Regions from separate parts of the Homo sapiens genome. Here region 1 is linked to region 2. The links are contacts of gene promoters, found by promoter capture Hi-C in human tissues and cell types (Jung and others, 2019). All regions are on one chromosome and are shown on one strand. Each heading gives the region's core, a stretch centred on a gene start or on the middle of the fragment in contact. The rest is flanking DNA. Distances are from core to core; before and after follow the strand shown.

The links. The method cuts DNA at HindIII sites, captures the fragments that hold promoters and counts their contacts. A contact is called where the count stands out against the background at its distance.
Region 1: a fragment that was not itself captured here is called in contact with the fragment with the promoter of ZFHX2 in region 2 in 1 of the 25 tissues and cell types used here (H1 embryonic stem cells).

The regions. Positions count from the first base shown.
Region 1 is chr14:23,388,056-23,393,417 of GRCh38, reverse strand. It overlaps MYH6 (myosin heavy chain 6), which reads left to right. Exons shown (of 39, transcript NM_002471.4): 23 at 1-76; 24 at 361-506; 25 at 766-856; 26 at 2,972-3,361; 27 at 3,699-3,825; 28 at 3,907-4,025; 29 at 4,363-4,559; 30 at 5,080-5,263. It overlaps MIR208A (microRNA 208a), which reads left to right and starts at 4,752; the gene lies at 4,752-4,822. RefSeq lists enhancers at 3,267-3,870, 3,871-4,474. The HindIII fragment of the contact is 7,544 bases long and covers 341-5,362 here.
Region 2 is chr14:23,549,489-23,554,856 of GRCh38, reverse strand. ZFHX2 (zinc finger homeobox 2) reads left to right here and starts at 3,092. Exons shown (of 10, transcript NM_033400.3): 1 at 3,092-3,514. It also overlaps a transcript of THTPA not described here. RefSeq lists enhancers at 2,739-2,788, 3,638-4,300 and a silencer at 2,919-3,158. The HindIII fragment of the contact is 20,255 bases long and covers 1-5,368 here.

The DNA.
Region 1 (5,362 bases), core at 2,863-5,362, 160 kb after region 2:
TGACCTTCAGGTTGAGGAAGACAAGGTCAACAGCCTGTCCAAGTCTAAGGTCAAGCTGGAGCAGCAGGTGGATGATGTGAGTAGTAAGAACCATGCTCCTGCTCTCAGAGCAAGATTTTGCAGGCAACACCAATGGCCCAGAAAGTCCTGATCCCTAGAATTAACTTCTATGGCCCCTGAAGCTTTTTTGCTCTCTGTAGTTCCTCACTACAGTAGGTCTCTGAATCCTTTGTGCTTGCAGGATTTCTCTGTTGGTTTGACTTCCAATCCCACTGGACTTCAAGTTTAGAAGGAGGCAAAAGAGCATACACTATGGATTTCATGTTTTCCACACTTTGCTTATTTTCTTCCCTCCAACAGCTGGAGGGATCCCTAGAGCAAGAGAAGAAGGTGCGCATGGACCTGGAGCGAGCAAAGCGGAAACTGGAGGGCGACCTGAAGCTGACCCAGGAGAGCATCATGGACCTGGAAAATGATAAACTGCAGCTGGAAGAAAAGCTTAAGAAGTAGGAGACTGTGGTGGCCAGGAGGGGCTAATGGAGGTGTCTGGCCTGGTAGATAGAGTGCAGGGTGCTGCGCCTCCACTGGCCACAGTTGCCTTGGGTATGCTGGGAATAAGGTCAATCACAGCCCTCTTCCGCCACTTTCTGGGCTGGCGAGGGGAGGGGGAGGTGCCGATTCTGGCATACTAAGGCCAAGAAGAGAATGAGCCCCAGAGGAAGGAAGGCTACCTGTCACTCCCCCACCCCCACCCTTCTCCTGCAGGAAGGAGTTTGACATTAATCAGCAGAACAGTAAGATTGAGGATGAGCAGGTGCTGGCCCTTCAACTACAGAAGAAACTGAAGGAAAACCAGGTGACTTTTTTTCCCAGTGCATGAAAGTGGGAGCTCAATAGCCCTGAGGTAACTGAGGCTGCAGCAGCTGCTTAGGGTTCTACACAATATCTGGAACTCCAGGCAGCCTCATAGACCCAACCATCCCTGACTTACAGGCGCTCAGGAACACTAGCCTTCCCCCATAGAGCAAGAATACATTACGTTAGCAAAACTGTTTGAGAAGGGGGACTCATACCTACTAAAGGGCTTCTCCTTCTGAGATCTGCTCTGCCTCAGGGACTTTCTACTCTAAGACAAATGATAGAGCTCTATTCTCCTCTAACCCTTCCTCTGGTAGTTCAGCCCTCTGAACGCAGGGTGAAAAAAAAAAAAGGCTTCAAGGAGCACCTTCCTGTGAGCTGCTCTGTTCATATTCTTCCCGGTACTAACCCCAGCCACTAACCCAGGCTGAGTCCCCATAGGGCACTCATGATAAGAGCCAATTCCAACAACTGTGAGCAAGTCACTTACCCTCCCTGATCCTCAGATTCTCTTCTCACCTGTAAAATGAGACTGACAATACCTACCACACAGGACCAGAGGGGATAATGTATTTGAAACCATTTTGTCAACTAGGAAATTCTATACAAGTATCATATTAATATAGCCCAATTTAGAGAAGTCAGCCAGCCACTAGCCTAAGAAGGTATTGTTTTGTCTTCTCAATGGCCTTCTCATTCCTCTGCAGCTCAAGATTTAGTGAACAGCCATAGTCTCCCTTAGCTTTAATGAACCTCAAACCCTAATGTGCTTTTAGTATCGGGTTTGTCAGAAGAGACCTGGAAGTCCACTGCCATCCCCATTATAGAGCTACAGAAGCTACATGGCCAGGTCTGGACATAGTGACCCCAAGGGCAACAGGAACTCGGCTACTGGGGCGGGACCTTGTCCTCTCACTTTGGGGCAGACTGTGGCTGGTAGAAAGAGGTAGTCTCCCCTCTGCACTTGAGGCCCATGGCCCAGGCTGCAAGTAATGTATGAACACAATTCCACTCCTCTGGGGCTGCACAGGGACTGGCCCGCCTTCATTAGTAATTTGCCCTCCCATCTTCTTGGATGCCCCTTCTGGGTTTTAGCTAGAATATCGGGCCATCCTCAGGTTCTTCTACCCTAGGTCTGGGCAACTTGTTTGGCCTCTTGGACACAGAATAACAGTCCTGTTAGTCTCATCAGCTCTCGGCAATAGGCTATGGCTCCTCCTTCATCCCCAAGATCTTGCTCAGAAGTCCCACCTTCTCCATCCTGGGAGCAGAGGCATGGTGGTCCTCTCTGCTGCTTGTAGGACCCATCCATGAACAGTCCATTAAAGCTGTCCATAACCCGAGGTGAAGGGATTTCCACTGAACCCCCGTTTTGCTCCTGGCTAGCCAGACAACAGATCAAAATGGTAGATACGATATTCTCCCAATTTAGTCAAGACCAAGGCTAAGGCCCAAAAAATGAGGTAAGGGCACTTAAAGAGGATAAGGAGATGAGGTGAAGAGGAGAGTAGCCTGCTAGCACTTTCCTGGCCTGGAAGGGAGCAATCATGTTGAAACCCAGCCCTGGGCATAAACACAGCAAGCCTGGGAGAGCAAGGAATATGGTTGATTGGACTTTGTGGTTAACTTGGAGAATTGCAAAGGTATCTGATTGTTTCGAGGCATGTTGTCACAAATATTTGTAAAATACAAGCACTCATTTTCCCGTCTTATGAATAGCGCAACAGAGCCTAGTGAATCTGGGGACTCTGAACTTCTTGATCTCACAGGATACCAGGATCCCCCTTCAACCACAGGTTCTCAGGATTTGGGGCTGCAGATGCTCACACTGGGTCTGAGATGCCCTTGGGAGCTTCAGCCAAATTCCTATTGATGGCCTATGCATTATAGGATGTTTAGTAGCATCCCTGGCCCCTACCCTCTAGATGCCAGTAGCAAGCCCCACCAAGACATGACAATCAGACATTGCCAACTGTTCCCTGGGGCACAAAATTGCCCCTAGTTGAGAACCACTGCTTGAGAGGAACCTAAGTTCCTGGTAGCTTTTCAGAGCCGGGGGGATTCCAGTGGAGGGGTCCAGGCGGTGGGTCTGAGCCCTTTGTGTCTGACCCAGGCACGCATCGAGGAGCTGGAGGAGGAGCTGGAGGCCGAGCGCACCGCCAGGGCTAAGGTGGAGAAGCTGCGCTCAGACCTGTCTCGGGAGCTGGAGGAGATCAGCGAGCGGCTGGAAGAGGCCGGCGGGGCCACGTCCGTGCAGATCGAGATGAACAAGAAGCGCGAGGCCGAGTTCCAGAAGATGCGGCGGGACCTGGAGGAGGCCACGCTGCAGCACGAGGCCACTGCCGCGGCCCTGCGCAAGAAGCACGCCGACAGCGTGGCCGAGCTGGGCGAGCAGATCGACAACCTGCAGCGGGTGAAGCAGAAGCTGGAGAAGGAGAAGAGCGAGTTCAAGCTGGAGCTGGATGACGTCACCTCCAACATGGAGCAGATCATCAAGGCCAAGGCAGGCTCTGCTCGGCCTCCCCTCGCCCTCTCCCCTGCACAGCGGAGCCTCCCCCATGCCTTCTCTCTCTGTCTGCCATCTCCCTTGTCATTCTCATTCTCTTCATCACCCTTTGGTCTCTCTTCCTGTCTCCCCTGCCCCTCTCTGGCTCTCCTCACCCTCTCTATCTCTTCATGTTCCTCCTTTCTTTAATTCAAGTCTCTCTTCAGACTGCGCCCTCCCACACCTTCTGTGTCCCCCTCCTGCCCTCTGGCATTCCCCATCTCTGACCCTCTCTTCCTTCCTCTGGTCGACTCAGCCCCTCCCACACTCACCCTTCCTGTCTTGCTTCCTGAAGGCAAACCTGGAGAAAGTGTCTCGGACGCTGGAGGACCAGGCCAATGAGTACCGCGTGAAGCTAGAAGAGGCCCAACGCTCCCTCAATGATTTCACCACCCAGCGAGCCAAGCTGCAGACCGAGAATGGTGGGTGCCCCTAACCAACCCCCTGCCTAGGGCAGGACATGACTTGTGAAATGGCCCACAAGCCCCTCATTTCACCTCCAGGAGAGTTGGCCCGGCAGCTAGAGGAAAAGGAGGCGCTAATCTCGCAGCTGACCCGGGGGAAGCTCTCTTATACCCAGCAAATGGAGGACCTCAAAAGGCAGCTGGAGGAGGAGGGCAAGGTGAGGCCCAGTGGGGAGGGTGGGCAGGCTTGATGGCAGCCCTGGGGCAATTCATCTCAGTGCCAGAAATGGAGCCTGGAGCTGGAAAGAGTCCTCTGCAAGGGAAAGACCCTCCAGTCTAGGTTCTGCCCTGCAGCTAAGCGTCATTTAATGCCTCTTTTCTTATTCGTAAGGGGATGGGGTGAGCAGACTGGGAAACTCCTCAAACAGTGAGGTGCCACATCAGCCCACATGGTGAATAAGGCTGGGCTTGGTTGAAGTACTACATAAGAAGAGAATCTAGAGAATGGGGCACAGGGAGTCCCTCCCACCTCCTGGTGCCCCCCCCCCTCCCCAGGCGAAGAACGCCCTGGCCCATGCACTGCAGTCGGCCCGGCATGACTGCGACCTGCTGCGGGAGCAGTACGAGGAGGAGACAGAGGCCAAGGCCGAGCTGCAGCGCGTCCTGTCCAAGGCCAACTCGGAGGTGGCCCAGTGGAGGACCAAGTATGAGACGGACGCCATTCAGCGGACTGAGGAGCTCGAAGAGGCCAAGTGAGCTCCAGATACCCCCTTAACCTGACTCTCAGAGAGGAAGGGGCGAGAGGACCTGGGGTGGGGACAGGCAAAGTGGTCATGAGACGGAAGTGGAAGAGACAGGAGGAACTCGGAGGGCAACAGAAGTGCTTGGAAGAAAGCCTGAACTCTTTGCTCTGTGAACTCTGGCTGGCCCTGACCCACTTCCTGTGACGGGCGAGCTTTTGGCCCGGGTTATACCTGATGCTCACGTATAAGACGAGCAAAAAGCTTGTTGGTCAGAGGAGCTACCGTCGATCAGCCTGTGTGGGGGGTGAGGGCAGGGGGCACTGACACCCAGATGCCACTGCAGGTAGGGAGGACGCCTGGGCAGCCCGTGCTGGCGGACTCTGTTCCAGGCATGAGCAGGCTCAGCTCCTGCTAGGCTGGACTTACGGTGTCTCAAGGAGATATAGGGAGGGGGTGGAAGGAGGTCCACCCAAGGCTCCAGTGTTGCCCAGTAGAGTCACACACACACCCTCCACCCTCACCTGGGCAGAAAGAAGCTGGCCCAGCGGCTGCAGGATGCCGAGGAGGCCGTGGAGGCTGTTAATGCCAAGTGCTCCTCACTGGAGAAGACCAAGCACCGGCTACAGAATGAGATAGAGGACTTGATGGTGGACGTAGAGCGCTCCAATGCTGCTGCTGCAGCCCTGGACAAGAAGCAGAGAAACTTTGACAAGGTGGACCATGGGCGGGGGCCGCAGCCAGCATGCAGGGCAAGGGGGCATGAGGGGTTCAGTGAGAGGCCAAAGGCAACCTCCTTGGAGGTGGAGGAGGAG
Region 2 (5,368 bases), core at 1,843-4,342:
AGGAAGCTCCCTGAGGAACCGTGGCTCTTAACTCCTGGACTCCTTCCTATGATGGGTGAGAAGTGCCATGTTCTCAACACCTGCCCTCTCACCAGTATGTTTCTGGAAATACATGACCAGTGAGAGGTATTATAGGGAGAAGGACACTGGTTTAAAGACATGGCATTTTGGCCAGGTGTGTTGACTCACACTTGTAATCCTAGCACTTTGGGAGGTCGAGGCAGGAGGATCATTTGAGGCCAGGAGTTTGAGACCAGCCTGGGCAACATAGGAAGACCCTGTTTCTACAAAAAAAAAAAAAAAAAAATTTTAATTAGCCGGGTGTGGTAGTGCATGCCTGTGGTCCCAGCTGCTCAGGAGGTTGAGGCAGCGGGATAGCTTGAGCCCAGGAGGTCAAGGGCAGTGAGCTACGATCCTGCTACTGCCTGCACTCCAGCCTCGGCAACAGAGCAAGACCCTGTGCATAAATAAATAAACAAATGGCATCTTGAACTTGGAGTAGCTTGGGTCAACCTCTGTCCCCACTCCATGTTAAGCACTGTTGGTTAGGGAGAGAAGAAACCCCAGCTCCTAAAGCCTGCTTTTCATCCATCTTTTGCTTTCCGGTTTTGTTAACCTGGGATGAAGACCTAATTTTTCCTTATGTTATAAGATCCAATCCAGTGGGGCAAAAGCAGCAGCTTATTTGAACAGAAAGACCAGTTTCCGGAGCCAGACCTGAGGTCGACTCCCAGCTTCACTTTCTAGATGTTTGGCCTTCCGCAAGCTACTCCACTTTCCTAAGCATCTGCTTTTTTTTTTTTTTTTTTTTTTTTTTTGAGACAGAGTCTCACTCTGGCGTCTCAGCTCACTGCAACCTCTGCCTCCTGGGTTCAAATGATTCTCCCGCCTCAGCCTCCTGAGTAGTTGGGACTACAGGCACGTGCCACCCCACCCTCCTAATTTTTGTTTGTTTGTTTGTTTGAGACGGAGTCTCGCTTTGTCGCCCAGGCTGGAGTGTAGTGGCGCCATCTCGGCTCACTGCAAGCTCCGCCTCCAGGGTTCATGCCATTCTCCTGCCTCAGCCTCCCAAGTAGATGGGACTACAGGTGCCCACCACCATGCCCGGCTAATTTTTTGTAATTTTAGTAGAGATGGGGTTTTACCCTGTTAGTCAGGATGGTCTCGATCTCCTGATCTTGTGATCCACCCGCCTCCACCTCCCAAAGTGCTGGGATTACAGGTGTGAGCCACCACGCCCGGCCTGTTTTTGGTTTTGAGACGGAGTTTCACTCTTGTTGCCCAGGCTGGAGTGCAATGGTGTGATCTTGGCTCACCGCAACCTCTGCCCCCCGGGTTCAAGCGATTCTTCTGCCTCAGCCTCCCGAGTAGCTGGGATTACAGGTGCCCACCACCACGCCCAGCTAATTTTGTATTTTTAGTAGAGACAGGGTTTCACCATGTTGGTCAGGCTGGTCTCGAACTCCTGACCTCAGGTGATCTACCCACCTCAGCCTCCCAAAGTGCTGGGATTACAGGAGTGAGCCACCATGCCCGGCCAGCCTCTGCTTTTTCATTGAGAAAATGTGGCCTGCCTCACAGTTACCTGTGAGGATTCAGTCATAAACTGTCACATAGTATAAACTCAAAATGTTCATTTATCTCTCCTTTTTGTCATGTGAACTTCAGGGTTTTGTTGTGTTGTTTAAGAGAAGTAGGCTATAGCAGTTAGTATGGGCCCTGGAGCCAGACCATGGAGGTTTTTGAGTCCTGGCACTGTCACTTACTTATTGGCCATTGGACCTTGGGCCTGTTAATTCACTTGTTTGTGCCTTAGTTTCCTCAATAAATGAGACTATAATAGCATCTACCTCATGCTTGAGGTATTGAGAGGAGTAAACAATGTATGTAAAAGTGCTTGGAACTGTCCCTGTGCATTCAAGAAATCTTAAAAATTATTATTAGAATACAGGAGCGGCCGGGTGAGGTGGATCACCCCTATAATCCCAGGACTTTGGGAGGCTGAGGCCGGTGGATCACCTGAGGTCAGGAGTTCGAGACCAGCCTGGCTAAGATGGTGAAACCCCCGTCTCTACTAAAAATACAAAATTAGCAGGGCATGGTGGTGGGCACCTACAATCCCAGCTACTTGGGAGGCTGAGGCAGGAGAATCACTTGAACCTGGGAGGTGAAGGTTGCAGTGAGCCGGGATCATGCCACTGCACTGCAGCCTGGGCGACAGAGTGACTCTGTCTCAAGAAAAAAACAAACAAACAAAAAAACGGGCTGGGCGCGGTGGTGGTTCACACCTGTAATCCCAGCACTTTGGGAGGCCGAGGCAGGCGGATCACAAGGTCAGGAGTTCGAGACCAGCTTGACCAACGTGGTGAAACCCCGTCTCTACTAAAAATACAAAAATTAGCTGGGTGTGTTGATGCATGCCTGTAATCCCAGCTACTTAGGAGGCTGAGGTAGGAGAATCGCTTGAACCCGGTGGTGGAGGTTGCAGTGAGCCGAGATCGCACCACTGCACTCCAACCTGGGCGACTGAGTGAGACTCCGTCTCCAGAAAAAAAAAAAAAAAAAAAATTCAGGAGCACTTAATAAGCGATAAACTGAAGATGAGGAGGAGCCCGAACCTCCCCCAACCCAGCTCAGGGGACTATGTAACCGTGTGGAGGAGGCAGAAGCTCTCAGAGACTAAAGAGTAATTGCTGCGGTAGAGAAGGTTCTAGTACCCAATTTCGCGGGGGGAGATGGGGGAGGCGGAATAATAAGGCAGGAAGAAGAGAATGAAAAAAGGAGGCCTTGGGCGGCTCAGGGCTTGTTCTGAAGCTGATTTAAAACAAAACAACAAAACACATGTATGGTTTCTGCAGGCCACAGGATGAAGAGGAGAGGAGACGGAAAAGAGTTTAAAGGGGCCTGCCCTCTTTGCAGGCACCGGCTTGAACCTGGAGGCGACCTGGTGGGCTGGCCGGCCTGCCCCCGGCCCTGGGTCCCGCGAGGCAGGCGGGCGGGCGCGAACAGACTACAACTCCCGGCATGCGCCGCGGCGGGCGGGTCGCTGCACCTGCTCAGTGGGGCAGCCCCGGGCGCCTGGGTATTGATTATTCCATTGTGTGGGACGCCTAGACTCCAGCCAGTGAATGAGGCGGAGGAGTGAGGGCGAGGAGGAGGAGGAGGAGGAGGGCGAGGAGGAGAAGGAGGAGGAGGAGGAGGAGGCAGGGAGCGAGCGAGTGCCCAGGGTGAATCAATGGAAACCCCCTCACGAAGCCGGGGAAACACTTCAGCCGCAGCCAAATAGCATTGATTATTTTCCTTCACTTCCCTCACCGCCGTGAATTTATTTATTTATTTTTTTCCGTCTCCGTCCCTGACGCCCCGGAGCGAGCGCTGGAGGGAGGGAGGAGGAGGGGAAAAAAGAGGAATCAACACATCGGAGAAGTCCCTTCCAAGAGCCGCCCCCTCCCCTCCCCGCCTCGCGCTGCTCGGTGGCCGCGGTTCGACTCCCGTCCCTGCTTCCAGCTGAGGTGTAAGTGCATCGATTTCCGATGCTGCTGGGTTGGTTTTTTTCTCCTCTCCCTCTCTCTCTTCTTCCCTTCCTTGCTCTTTGGAAGCTCGAGACGGGAGAGGAGGCGCTTGGAGACTGCCGCTGGAGGGGACGGAGAGGGACGGGAAGGGGCTGGGGGAGGGGACAAGGACGGACGGACAGACAGACCGAGAGCCCTGGGAGATAGCAGACAGGGGTGTGGGAGGAAGAGGGCGTGCGCGAGGATGGGGGAAGAGAGATGCGGGGGTGGAGGGAGAAACGGGAACGGGAAAGGCAGAGGCCCGCCGGACAGACGAAGGGTATGGAAAGCCTAGACGGACCGCGCCGAGTTGGGCAGGGAGCGGGGATCCCGGGGGGAAGGGGAGGCCCGGTGAGTGTGAGGGCTCAGAGCTGTCAGCCTGGAGGGTCCTGGGTCTCGGCGGCCCCCCGCCGGCTGTGGGATGGGAGAACCGCGGCCGGCGGGCTGATGGATGGGCTAGCGCGCTGGGGCGTGGAGTGGGAGGGGACGTGGATACTCTCAGTCTTCGTTCGTTTTTGGCTGAAGTTGGGCTTTCCATTCCTTTTTTTGAAAGTGTTGAGTAGGTGAGGGGAGGCCATAAGCCCATTCAAGGTGAAGCGTGTCTGTCCTGCACGCCCATCCTACCACCCCCATCCGCTCGTCTGCCCCTCTGAGCAGCCCTATCATTTTCAAGCACAGGACCACGCTTCCTCGCTGTGCCTGTAGCCCCGCTGATCTCTGTCCATGTGTCCCTGACTTTTGGTTTTGCTGTTCTTCATCTTGTCTCTTCCATCCCATCCATCTCTGGATCTGTATGTCACTGTCTCCACTTGTGACCCTTCCCATCTGAGTGATCCTCTCCTTGTGTGTCTCTATCACTATGTGTCACGCCTTGGCTGCCTGTTCTGTCGGTCTAGGATTCCATGCCCTCTCCTTCAGAGTCTGTCTGGATATCTCTGGCCTTTTCAGGCTACTTTGGAATTTGCTTATCAGTCATGATTGTGGTGGTCACAGTCAGGGCCTGGAGGAGTGGGATGATGGAGCAAATGTGTCTTCGCCAAAGCCTCTAGTGCCTTCAGCATGGCCAGGACAGCCTCCTCTTCCACCATCACCAGAGAAGCTTTGGAACTTCCTAGCATTGTTGACTGTCCCCTTTGCCATGTGCCTGTCTCCCTCATCAGAACCTCACCTTCTGGTCTCATGCGTGTCATCTGCCTTTCCAGGAGCTTCGCACAACAAAACCTCTTCCCTGCTGACTTAATTTTACTCCCTTCCCCCACTGTATCATTGTATATTTTTTATTTCCCCATTTTGCTTCACCCCTTTTTTCCATCTGTTTCCCATGAGCTCTGAGTTTCCACCTTTGTTCCCATAATCTGCCCTCTTCCTACCTTTTCTTCTTGATCACCCTAAGTTTCTAGTTTCTTTTATCCCTTTTCCTCTTATCCAGCATTTTAACCCCAGCAGCAGAAAGTACCAGCAAGCAAAGGGCTGGGAGAGGTGTGGGGTATGGTTTGTGAAGGCACATAAACAGGCCAAGAAATAAATTTAATGAGCTTCCAGGGGCATATAACCCCTCCATCAGTCAGTGCCATTATGTCAGTTAACTGTCAACTTTGATTTTGTAAGGGGACATTCCCTAGGACTCTAAGCTCCACCCTGCCTGGTTGCCCCCCATCCTTCAGTTCATTCTAGATATCAGTTGCTTTTTCTTCACTTTTTAGTTCATCTTCTTCCTAGGCCCCTGCTACTATCATATTTAGATCCAGCACCATTTTTTTTTAATGAGGCAGTGTTTATTAGTGTAATAAAAGCTATCGTATGTAAGGAGCCAAGTT